4 separate regions of the Homo sapiens genome follow, and regions 1, 2 and 3 are each linked to region 4. The links are contacts of gene promoters, found by promoter capture Hi-C in human tissues and cell types (Jung and others, 2019). All regions are on one chromosome and are shown on one strand. The core of a region is centred on a gene start or on the middle of the fragment in contact, and the rest is flanking DNA. Distances in the headings are between cores, read along the strand shown. Region 1 overlaps RNF157 (ring finger protein 157). Region 2 overlaps SRP68 (signal recognition particle 68). Region 3 overlaps SAP30BP (SAP30 binding protein). Region 4 holds the start of MRPL38 (mitochondrial ribosomal protein L38).

Region 1 (2,700 bases), core at 42-2,541, 250 kb before region 4:
TAATGTCTTTGCCATAGTTCATATTGAATAAAACAGTAGATAAAAGGGCAAAGGGCATAAACAAAACACACTCAACATAGAATTTTTTAAAAAGTTCAACCACATTAAAAATCAATGATATGCAAATATGAGAATACCATTTTCCAACTTTCAAATTTTAAAAACTTTTCTTTTTAGCGATTCTCCCTGCTTTCGGGGAAGCAGTCAGAATAGGTCTTCTGTATTACTTATAGGAGTGTAACTAGAAAAGGCACTGAAAAAAAAAACAGCAGAAAACAGCAGTATATATCAAGGCCTTAAAAACATTTATACCTCATCATCTAAGAGCTAATAATTTAATAACAAGAACATAATTTGAAAAAAAGGCATTCAAGGATGTTCATCAAAACTTGTTTACAATAGGATGTGTTAGACACAACTAGATTCCCAGCACTAGGAGAATAGTTAGAAAACTTAGGGGATCTATGAGAAGGGGACATATATAAAGAGGCTTCAGAAACAAAGGAAAATATTTATGTTCTGGCCAGGCATGGTGGCTTACATCTGTAATCCTAGCACTTTGGGAGGCCATGGTGGGAGGATCAATTGAGACCAGGAGCTCAAGACCAGCCTGGGCAACATAGTGAGATCCCATCTCTATTTTTTTAAAGAGGAAAGTATAATAAAATAAGCAGAATATAAAATTGTTATTTACAGATTGATCAAAACTGTGTAAATAGTACACAGAAAAAAAATGGGAAGAAGAGACACCAGAATGCTAACAAAAGTAACTTTGGGTGATTTGATTACTGGTGATTTTTTTTCCTTACTTTTACTTTTATGTATTTTCCAAATTTCCATTATAATCAGAAAAAAAATAGAGATTATTAAGAAAAAGCTTACCAATAAGCAGGATCTACAGTGTGTGATTCTTTGATATTTTATCTCTGCCTCTAGTACAGTTGTTCTTACCAGACCCCCCCAAGAACAGATATAAAACATTTTTTTCAGTGTAGAGAAGTAGCATGATCACGTCATAAAACAAAAAGGACCTAATTAATTTTTCAACCTGTCTCTGATTCCCCTAGTCCTCAGAGAATATTCCACCAGGCTATGAAGTAGTATCTCTTCTGGAGGCCCTCAACGGGCCCCTCACCCCGTCCCCAGCAGTTCCTCCACTTCACGTGCTTGGAGATGGCCACCTCTCAGGAATGCTCCCTTCATATGGCAGTGATGGCCACCTGCCCCCCGTCAGGACGATCTCGCCTCTTGACCGCCTGTCTGACAGCAGCAGTCAGGGACTCAAACTCAAAAAGAGTCTCTCCAAGTGAGTAGCCAGTGCTCCACACTGTTGCCCCCGGAATCCTTGATGAAATGCTTCATCCCTCCTTGGTGCTGGCCCACATCCTGGGGACTTAGGGCAGAGTAACCCTCTGGGCTGTTCCCAGAGCTGCTTGCGTGAAGGTTATCCCATCCATTAAGAGATGAAAATAAGATGGTATGTAGGTACTTAAGAAAACTCTGATGAGACAAATCTCTTATGTATTCTTTTTTTCTTTCAAGGATAGGGGATGGGATATAGGGAAGAGGATGTTGAACACTGTGGATAGGGCCTTCTAGGCCCCTGGGAGCATTGCTTAGTCCGAAGACTGAAGGAACCTTGTGATCCGTATCTCTTAAACATCTAAATCCAGCTAGGCACAAATCATGACAAGGTTTCTGTGGCAGAGTAAAGGGGAGGGTATTTTACAGATGAAAATATTGAGACCCTGTAAATGGCAGTGGTTTTTCCCAAGTTTAGATAGCAAGTCATCAGAGGAGCTAAAAGTAAAACTTAGCGCTTCTGACACCCAAAAGAGGTCTCCATCCCTCTCTGGTTCTATTTCCCTAGTCCTACTTAAGATTTGGGTTTCGAGCCAGGCAAGTTAGCCCAGACCTACTCGGCTACTCAGGAGGCTGTACTCCTCCTCTGTTAAAGCGTCAACAAGAGGATCGCTGAAGCCCAGGAGTCCCAGCCCAGCCTGGGAAACATAATGAGATGCTGTCTCAAAAAATAAACAAGCAAAAAATATTTGGGTTTTCCCCTCAGCTCCCCTTGCAGTAAGTTCTGTTCTTTAAATGGACGTTGGATATAGCTGCTTTTCCACTGGACTCCTACAGATCCACTTCCCAAAACTCTTCCGTGCTGCATGAAGAGGAAGATGAGCATTCCTGCAGCGAGTCGGAGACACAGCTCTCTCAGAGACCGTCGGTTCAGCATCTCGGAGAGGTAATTGACATTCCTCTCCTCTTCTTGGGTGTTGTACTCCAGGGACTTCCCTCCTACCTGCATGCCTCATCAGGTCCCTCTGCTCTCATTCACTCATCAAACACCTTGTCAGCACCCTCTGAGGCAGTGGCAAAGGTTTCACTGGATTCATGCATTCAACAGTGTATGCAGCCTGTATTATTTGCCAGGCACTGTGCTATATGCTGAGGATAGTAGCTGGGACACTACAAAAGTCCCTGCCCTTGTAGCATTTATATTCTTGCTATCTGGGGTGGGGGGCACAAAAGACAATAGGTAAAAAAATACATGTGTGCCTGATGGTGCTGTGGATCAGCATGTGTGACATGTGGGAAGGGAGTGTCACGGCTGGAAGTGGGGGCTGCCATTCTTAAAAAGCGGTCCAGGAGCCAAGACCAAGGGAAGTGGTAGAGCTAGCTATGCAGATATACGAG
Region 2 (2,700 bases), core at 162-2,661, 150 kb before region 4:
TGGCTGCATGGTACTCCGTTGCATAGAAGTCTGTTTTATTTAACCATTCATTGTTCATTAAGTGGTAAACAGTATTACCATGAATGTCCATGTCCTCAGATTTTGCACACATTCTTGATTATTTCCTTAGGATAAATTCCTAAAACTGGAATTAAATGGTTTGGAAACTTGATACATACTGACAAATGTCTTTAAGTTTCTACTGATTAGCATTCCTGCTTGTAGCGTATACAGATATGCTTTTCTCCTTACATCCTTACCAAAACTTAGTGTTACTCTTTTTAACCTTCCGCTATGTCCTTTTAATATTTGAATTTCTGTAGCTAAAATATATGATACCAGGGAGAAATTTAAAACAAATAGAAATTGGTGGCCAGCAGGGTGGTTCACACCTGTAATCCTGGCACTGTGGGAGGCTGAGGTGAAAGGATAACTCGAGCCCAGGAGTTCAAGACCAGCCGGGGCAACACAGTGAGACCCCACCTCTACAAAAAAAATTTTTTTCAGAGGCTGGGCACAGTGGCTTATGTCTGTAATCCCAGCACTTTGGGAGGCCAAGGTGAATGGATCACCTGAGGTCAGGAGTTCGAGACCAGTCTGACCAACACGGAGAAACCCCGTCTGTACTAAAAATACAAAATTAGCTGGATGTGGTGGTGCAGGCCTCTAATCCCAGCTACTTGGGAGGTGGAGGTTGCAGTAAGCTGAGCTCATACCATTGCATTCCAGCCTGGGCAACAAGAGCAAAACTCCGTCTCAAAAAAAAAAAAAATTTTTTTTTTTCTTAAATTAGCCAGGCATGGTGACACATACCTGTAGTCCTAGCTGCTCGAGAGGCTGAGGCAAAAGGATCACTTGAGCCCAGGAGTTGGAGGTTGCAGTAAGCTGTCATTAGGCCACTGCACTCCAGCCTGGGCAACAGAGCAAGACCCTGTCTACTAAAAAAATTAAAGAGGCCTGGCACAGTGGCTCATGCTTGTAATCCCAGCACTTTGGGAGGCTGAGGCAAGTGGATCACTTGAGGCCAGGAGTTTGAGACCAGTCTGGCCAACGTGGTGAAACCTCGTCTCTACTAAAAATACAAAAATTAGTCGGGCATGGTGGCATGTGCCTGTAGTTCTAGCTTCTCAGGAGGCTAAGGCACAAGAATTCCTTGAACCTGGGAAGCAGAGGTTGCAGTGAGCCTAGATAGCGCCACTGCACTCCAGCCTGGGTGACAGAGCAAGACTGTCTCAAAAAAAATGAAAGAAATTGGTGTATACTCTACTTTCTATGGAGTATAATATGTTGGTTATACAAAGAGACAAATGATAGATTCCACTTATTTTCACCTCCATCACTCATATCCCCAGTTAAAGCTTTAACTTTTTTAAACTATTTTTCAGGCTTTGATCACTCAGACTCGAGCCAAACAGGCAGCTACCATGAGTGAAGTGGAGTGGAGAGGGAGAACGGTTCCAGTGAAGATTGACAAAGTGCGCATTTTCTTATTAGGACTGGCTGATAACGAAGCAGCTATTGTCCAGGTGAGGAGGAAGAACTTACTGTGCTGTCTTCTGTATGTGTCTGAAGGTTGTCCTGTGTGTTTAAGATGTAGTGGCTCGTTGGTATTCAGTTCTCATAAAACAAACTTTTAATGCTGTTTTGGATTTGGTAAGTACGGAGATGTGCCTTATTGAATAAAATTATTTTGAAAACTGAGTTTATAGAGGAATTCTTAATGTTTAGAGGGCAAAGAAATTGACAGCAACAGTCATCAACATAAAAATGGGAGGCATTAGAGGCTGGCTTAAAGTAAGGGGTCACATTTGGCCCAGCAGGTGGTGCAGCAGCTTAACTATTATGTCTCTGAAGTTTCTCTGACATGTTGTCGTAACCTCCTAGCCCTAAAGGGTTCACCTCTTAGTCCTGGGGCTTTGCAGGATAGCCTGGTTAAACCAGAATGTCTTGTTTTGTGTGCGGTGTACATGTAATATTCATGCAAAACTGTTATCACTTGATACTGCCTACTGACATAGTTACCTATTGGTGGGTACAAACAACCAAATGCGTCCTAAAAGATAAGACATCCTGGTGACCTTTGTATGACATAGACAGTGATGGGGGCACTTTTTAGAGCTTCTTTTCCACATGAGTTAAAGGACATCTTTAAAAAAACAGGCTGCTGACAGTCTACTGCCTCATCAGGGAACAGTGGCATTTCCGAAGACCTCACAGTTATCTTTTGCACCCTGAATAATTTGTGTATGGGTTGGTGGGGTGGTGTTTTGTTAATGTGTTGAGGAATTGGCTTAAGCATCTAAAATTTCAGCAACTTGCTCCAGAATGGCTACTATGGGTTGGAGGCAGCCTTCAACAGCTGAAGAGTTGATGTGTGTCCTTGTCTGTGTTTCGTATTGCCTGTCTCATATCCCTTTTATTTGCTTAAAGGACAGAAGACTAGAACAGTACTAGAAAGTTAATTTTTGCTTAAACTGAAAGGCTAAGGAACTTTTTTTGAGAGCATTCTATTGGCACTGTTGTATGGTGCTACCTCCACTGGACAACGGCTCTGGTAGCAACTATTCAGATTATGTGATTGGGTTAGTGCTTTGGTTTTAAAAGTGATCAATGCTGGAAGAAAGAAACTACTTCTGTCCTCAGTTCAGTGCCAGACAGCAGAGACAGTGGGGCAGGAATTCTGACTTGAAGAGGAGTTGG
Region 3 (2,700 bases), core at 148-2,647, 230 kb after region 4:
CATCCTGGCCAACATGGTGAAACCCCGTCTCTACTAAAAATACAAAAATTAGCTGGGCGACATGGCATGTGCCTGTAATCCCAGCTACTCGGGAGGCTGAGGCAGGAGAATGGCTTGAATGCGGGAGGCAGAGGTTGCAGTGAGCTGAGATTGCGCCATTGCACTCCAGCTTGGGCAACAAGAGCGAAACTCCTACTCAAAAACAAAACAAAACAAAAAAACAACAAAAAACCAAAGTAGAAAGGAGAATGCCACCTAGTGGAGATGACAATTATGACAGTAATCTAATTGTTAAACAACACTTCTAACAAAGATCCACACTTGTAACATATTCTATTGTTAGAAACTTCCTATGTTCATGTGCACTGGGCCTGGTGGCTCACAGCTCTAATCCCAGCCCTTTGGGAAGCCAATGTGGGCAGATTACTTGAGCCCAGGAGTTCAAGACCAGCCGGGGCAATATGGCAAAACCTTTCCTCTACAAAAAAATTAAAAAAAATTGCTAGGTGTGATGCACACACCTGTAGTCCCAGCTGTTTGGGAGGCTGAGGTGGGAGGATTAATTGAGCCAGGGAGGTTGTGGCTGCAGTAAGTTATGATGGCACCACTGCACTCCAGGCGACAGAGGAGACTCCACCTCAAAAAAAAAAAAAAAAAAAAAAAAAAAACAAAAAACAAACAAAAAAACTTCATATGCTTAAAGCAGAATGTCCAAAATTAAGGGTTTTGAATATAAAAAATATTGTTACACATCAATTTAAAAAAATGTGGGCTGGGCACAGTGGCTTATGCCTGTAATCCCAGCACTTTGGGAGGCAGAGGCGGGCCTATCACTTGAGGCCATGAGTTCAAGACCAGCCTGGCCAACATGGTGAAACCCTGTCTCTATTAAAAATACAAAAAATTAGCTGGGCATGGTGGCTCACACCTGTAATCCCAGCTACTCGGGAAACTGAGACAGGAGAATCGCTTGAACCCAGGAGGCGGAGGTTGCACTGAGCCGAGATCACAGCACTGCACTCCAGCCTGAGCGACAGAGCAAGACTCTGTCTCAAAAAAATAAATAAAATAAATAAATAAAAATAAAATGTAAATGTGCCAGAAAGTTCTGGATTTGAGGTACATGTTGCTATGTGGAAGAGAGTCTGAGGCCAGCTCAAGCAGAAGGATGACAGGGCCAGGACTAAGATAAGAGTATCACAGAAGACTCATGCTGGGGATCATTTGTAGTCCTTGGAGATGCCACGAGGACTCCTAAAGGCCTGGCAGCCACTGGGGATTGCAGAACATTGAAGCTGGCAAGCTTTATCTAAACCCTTCTCCATCACCCTCCAAAAGAACTATATCAAGTGACTTTGAGGGTTGGATTTTGTGTTCTGATTTCTGAGGGCTCCTCAAGAGGAACAGAAATTATTCCATGAAAACTTTTCATTCCACAGTAAAACTTGAAATGCACATGAGTGAATGAGGAACAGCGAAGCACATCAGTCAAGGAGCAGGCAGGAATGACGAGGCTGTCAGCCGTGATGTAGGGCTGAGAAGGGGAGCCTGAGCACAAAAGGCATTTCCACAATCTTCCCAGCTTCACCTTTTTTGGGTCCCTCCCACCCCGCTCTTTAGTGACTGCTACTGGACAGCAGTAAAGTCTGTTTTGTTTTTCATGTGACCCCCACCCTGACTCACAAAGCCCTGTCATCTCCCAAGGATTTGTTGCCTGGATTACAGTATTTTAGAAGGGGTGACCGTTAAGTGTTATGTACCCTCCTCTCCAGCCAACTTCCCCAGGAAGCCTTCCAGCCCTAAGAAAAGGCTGCAACTGTACCCAGAAAGACTCTAGGACCCAGATCCTCCCTTCCCTCCACAACTGAAACCCAAACACTTAACGGCTCCCTGGGCTTGTTTTACGTGCAGGCTCCAAGTCCCACATACCCTAAATACTAGGCAGAGAAGATTATCACTACTGAGTGTTTTGTTCTGCAAGCCCGAGGAGAGCTGTGACTGACTTTGAACTATGGGGCCATGGGTCTGCCCATACCATCTTGCCAGTTCTCAGGCAGGGCGAGTTCTCAGGCCTGGGTTCCAGGTTTTTCACTCAGCATAGAAAGCAGGTTGCATTTACAGTTTTCAGGGGTTCTTTTTTTTCCCTCCTGCATGCTGGCGCCAAAACTTTCTTTCCTGGTAAAACACACTCTTATCTTTCTCACTCACAACGTCTCAAGATTTTAGTGGCTACATACAGTTCTATCCAATCACAGAATCAGCTCAAATATGGAACAGCTCACACTATATTTTCAAGAATATTACTGTTTTAGATTTTAATTGGGCATAAATTTCCTAAATTTTACTAGGTCATCTTGAAAGTTACAGCTGGTTTCCAAGCAGTTTTTTTTTGTTTTTTTTTTTGAGACAGATTCTCATTCTGTTGCCCAGGTTGGAGTGCATTGGCAGATCATGGCTCACTGCAACCTCTGCCTCCCAGGTTCAAGTAATTCCCCTGCCTCAGCTTCCCCAGTAGCTGGGATCACAGGTGTGCACCACCCACCAGTCTCACCAGTTAATTTTTGTATTTTTAGTAGAGACGGGGTTTCACCATACTGGCCAGGCTGGTCTTGAACTCCTGACCTCAAGTGATCCTCCCGCCTCAGCCTCCCAAAGTGCTGGGATTACAGGCGTGAGCTACTGCGGCTGGCCTCAAAGCAG
Region 4 (2,735 bases), core at 199-2,698:
GTATACAAAGGCCCCGTGGCCTGGAGGCAAAGTGCGATGGAAAAGTCTTGCCTTTTAGGGCAGGAGGGCCAGGGCTGGGGCAAAGGAGGGTCCCAGATTCCCCAGGCTACCAAGTTTTGCCATGGTAGAACTGGATCACAAGGGCAAGCCTGAGTCCTGCCAGAAACATTCACATCTGCACTTAACCAGGTCACTTCTGCCTTTGTGTGGATAATGAGAAGTTGGAGATAGTTGAGCTAACACACAAACCACTGCGAGCGCTTTCCAGAGGGTAATCTTTTCATCCTGACAGCTGTCAGGTAAGCACTAGTGTTAACCTGCTTTTTCCCAAATGAGGAAACCACAAGGAAGACAGTAAGGTCACGATCTGGTTTTTTTTTGGGGGGGGGGAGGGGCATTTTGAGACGGTGTCTCACTCTGGCACCGAGGTGGTGGCGCAATCTCGTCTCACTGCAGCTTCTGCCTCCCGGGTTCAAGTTAATTCTTGTGCCATAGCCTCCTGAGTAGCTGGGATTACAGGCGCCTGCCACCACGCCCGGCTAATTTTTGTATCATTAGTAGAGATACAAAAATTTTTGTATCTTTAGGGTTTTGCCATGTTCGTAGGGCTGGTCTCAAACTAATTACCTCAGATGATCCGCCCACCTCGGCCTCCCAAAGTGCTGGGATTACAGGTATGAGCCACCGCGCCCAGCCACAATCTGGGTTTTTATTACTATTATTTTATTATTATTATTATTATTGAAATAGAGTTTTCACTTTTGTCGCCCATGCTGGAGTGCAGTGGCGCGATCTCGGCTCACTGCAGCCTCCGCCTCTGCCTCCCAGGTTCAAGCGAGTCTCCTCCCTCAGCCTCCCGAGTAGCTGGGATTACAGGCGTATGCCACGCCCGGCTAATTTTTGTATTTTGAGTAGAGACGGGTTTTCACCGTGTTGGCCAGGATGGTCTCGATCTCCTGACTTCGTGATCCACCCGCCTTGGCCTCCCAAAGTGCTGGGATTCCCGGCGTGAGCCACCGCGCCCAGCCCTCAATCTGGGTTTTAAACCCAAGCAGAGTCCGGAATCGGAGCTCGCACCCCTTCTCCCAACCAGGCCTGCGTCCCTGGGGAAATCAGGACGCAGCGTCCAGGGGTTGGAGGAGGGCCCCGGCGGCCGACCCCGGTCTGTGCCGCCCCCTGGTGGCCAGCCATGGGCGAGCATATGACTGCTCTCGGCTCCGCCCCGCCGTCCAACGGGCACTTCCGGAGCCGGGCGTCTACAGACCGCGGCCACCTTCCACCTGCGCCCGAGGCAGACGGTGCAGGGGCCTCCGGGACAGGCGTCTGAGGCCTGCTCCGCAGCGCGGGCCCGGGGGCGGGCCTAGGGGCGGGGCCTGCTGTGGTGCGCTCAGGCACCGCGCTGGCCACCTGTGCCCGGGTCCTAGTGGCGGCCGCAGTGTCGCAGGCCGGAGGGAAGATGGCGGCGCCCTGGTGGCGAGCCGCGCTGTGCGAGTGTCGGAGATGGCGGGGCTTCAGCACCTCGGGTGAGGGGTGGGCAGCTCTGCGGGGGGGGGGGGGGGGGCTGTCGCCCGAGCTGTGGGGCGCCGGCCTTACGTCTTCTCTCTGCCCGCAGCCGTCCTGGGCCGCCGGACACCCCCGCTGGGGCCGATGCCCAACAGTGACATCGACTTGAGCAACCTGGAGCGGCTGGAGAAGTACCGGAGCTTCGACCGCTACCGGCGCCGAGCAGAGCAGGAGGCGCAGGCCCCGCACTGGTGGCGGACCTACCGAGAGTATTTCGGGGAGAAGACAGGTGCGGGGCGACTGGAGCAGGGGCTGCAGCCACCGCCCGGGGAACTCGGGACCCGCCGGCGTTTTCCCCGGGCGCTGGGCGAGCCTTGCCGGCGCCCTTGTGGATGCTGGGGACGCTGGGAGGGCCTGCCTGCAGACCTGTGTGCGCTATCGGCAGCTTAATCACCCCAGGATTTTTCACACCTTCTGCACCTCATTCTTGGAAAATTCGCTCCCCCTACTATTAGAGTTCCAGCTCCTAAAATATTTGCTCCTAAAATCTTGACCACCTGACTTTCCGGATTGGGATGCCGTTCTGTGCGCCTCAAATACTCTGTAGGTAACTCTGGCCACACTGCATTCTGACTGTGCGCTGCCTCTCCCCAGATTGTAAGCGCCCTGTTGACAGGGATCCTGCTTGTCTTGCCCTCCATTGGATCCTTGCACCCGAACAGTGCAAGGATGTACATGTGCAATACTTTGCTGAATGAAATTAAAGGCCTGGGCAGGGTGACTCAAAAAAGAACCCAACCTGGCCGGGCGCGGTGGCTCACGCCTGTAATCCCAGCACTTTGGGAGGCCTAGGCGGGCGGATCACCTGAGGTCGGGAGTTCGAGACCAGCCTGACCAACATGGAGAAACCCCGTGTCTGCTAAAAATACAAAATTAACTGGGCGTGGTGTCGCATGCCTGTAATCCCAGCTACTCGGGAGGCCTCTGAGGCAGGAGAATCGCTTGAACCCAGGAGGCAGAGGTTGCGGTGAGCCGAGATCGCGCCATTGCACACCAGCCTGGGCAACAAGAGCGAAACTCCGTCTCAAAAAGAAAAAAAAAAAAAGACCCCAACCTTTAAGGAACTTACAATTTATGGAGTATATGCTTTTCTTTTCTTTTCTTTTCTTTAGCATTTATAGAGGCAGTTTTGTGGTGGTTAAAGGCACAAGCGTGGAATCTAAATAGCCCGA

The links. Contacts are between HindIII fragments. The study calls those that stand out against the background at their distance.
Region 1: a contact is called between a fragment that was not itself captured here and the fragment with the promoter of MRPL38 in region 4, in 1 of the 25 tissues and cell types used here (dorsolateral prefrontal cortex).
Region 2: a fragment that was not itself captured here is called in contact with the fragment with the promoter of MRPL38 in region 4 in 3 of the 25 tissues and cell types used here (dorsolateral prefrontal cortex, lymphoblastoid cells and spleen).
Region 3: a fragment that was not itself captured here is called in contact with the fragment with the promoter of MRPL38 in region 4 in 3 of the 25 tissues and cell types used here (aorta, dorsolateral prefrontal cortex and heart right ventricle).

What each region holds. Positions count from the first base shown.
Region 1 is chr17:76,157,941-76,160,640 of GRCh38, reverse strand. It overlaps RNF157 (ring finger protein 157), which reads left to right. Exons shown (of 19, transcript NM_052916.3): 12 at 1,068-1,306; 13 at 2,140-2,248. Among named protein-coding and RNA genes, the nearest start is that of FOXJ1, 18 kb to the right of the region's middle. The HindIII fragment of the contact is 3,147 bases long and covers 1-2,700 here.
Region 2 is chr17:76,056,229-76,058,928 of GRCh38, reverse strand. It overlaps SRP68 (signal recognition particle 68), which reads left to right. Exons shown (of 16, transcript NM_014230.4): 8 at 1,386-1,526. Among named protein-coding and RNA genes, the nearest start is that of SRP68, 15 kb to the left of the region's middle. The HindIII fragment of the contact is 5,888 bases long and covers 1-2,700 here.
Region 3 is chr17:75,672,666-75,675,365 of GRCh38, reverse strand. The region is part of intron 3 of SAP30BP (SAP30 binding protein); the gene reads right to left. Among named protein-coding and RNA genes, the nearest start is that of SAP30BP, 6.7 kb to the right of the region's middle. The HindIII fragment of the contact is 5,826 bases long and covers 1-2,700 here.
Region 4 is chr17:75,903,597-75,906,331 of GRCh38, reverse strand. MRPL38 (mitochondrial ribosomal protein L38) reads left to right here and starts at 1,448. Exons shown (of 9, transcript NM_032478.4): 1 at 1,448-1,523; 2 at 1,613-1,792. The coding sequence starts at 1,457. RefSeq lists silencers at 1,043-1,522, 1,533-1,582, 1,603-1,652. The HindIII fragment of the contact is 5,940 bases long and covers 1-1,777 here.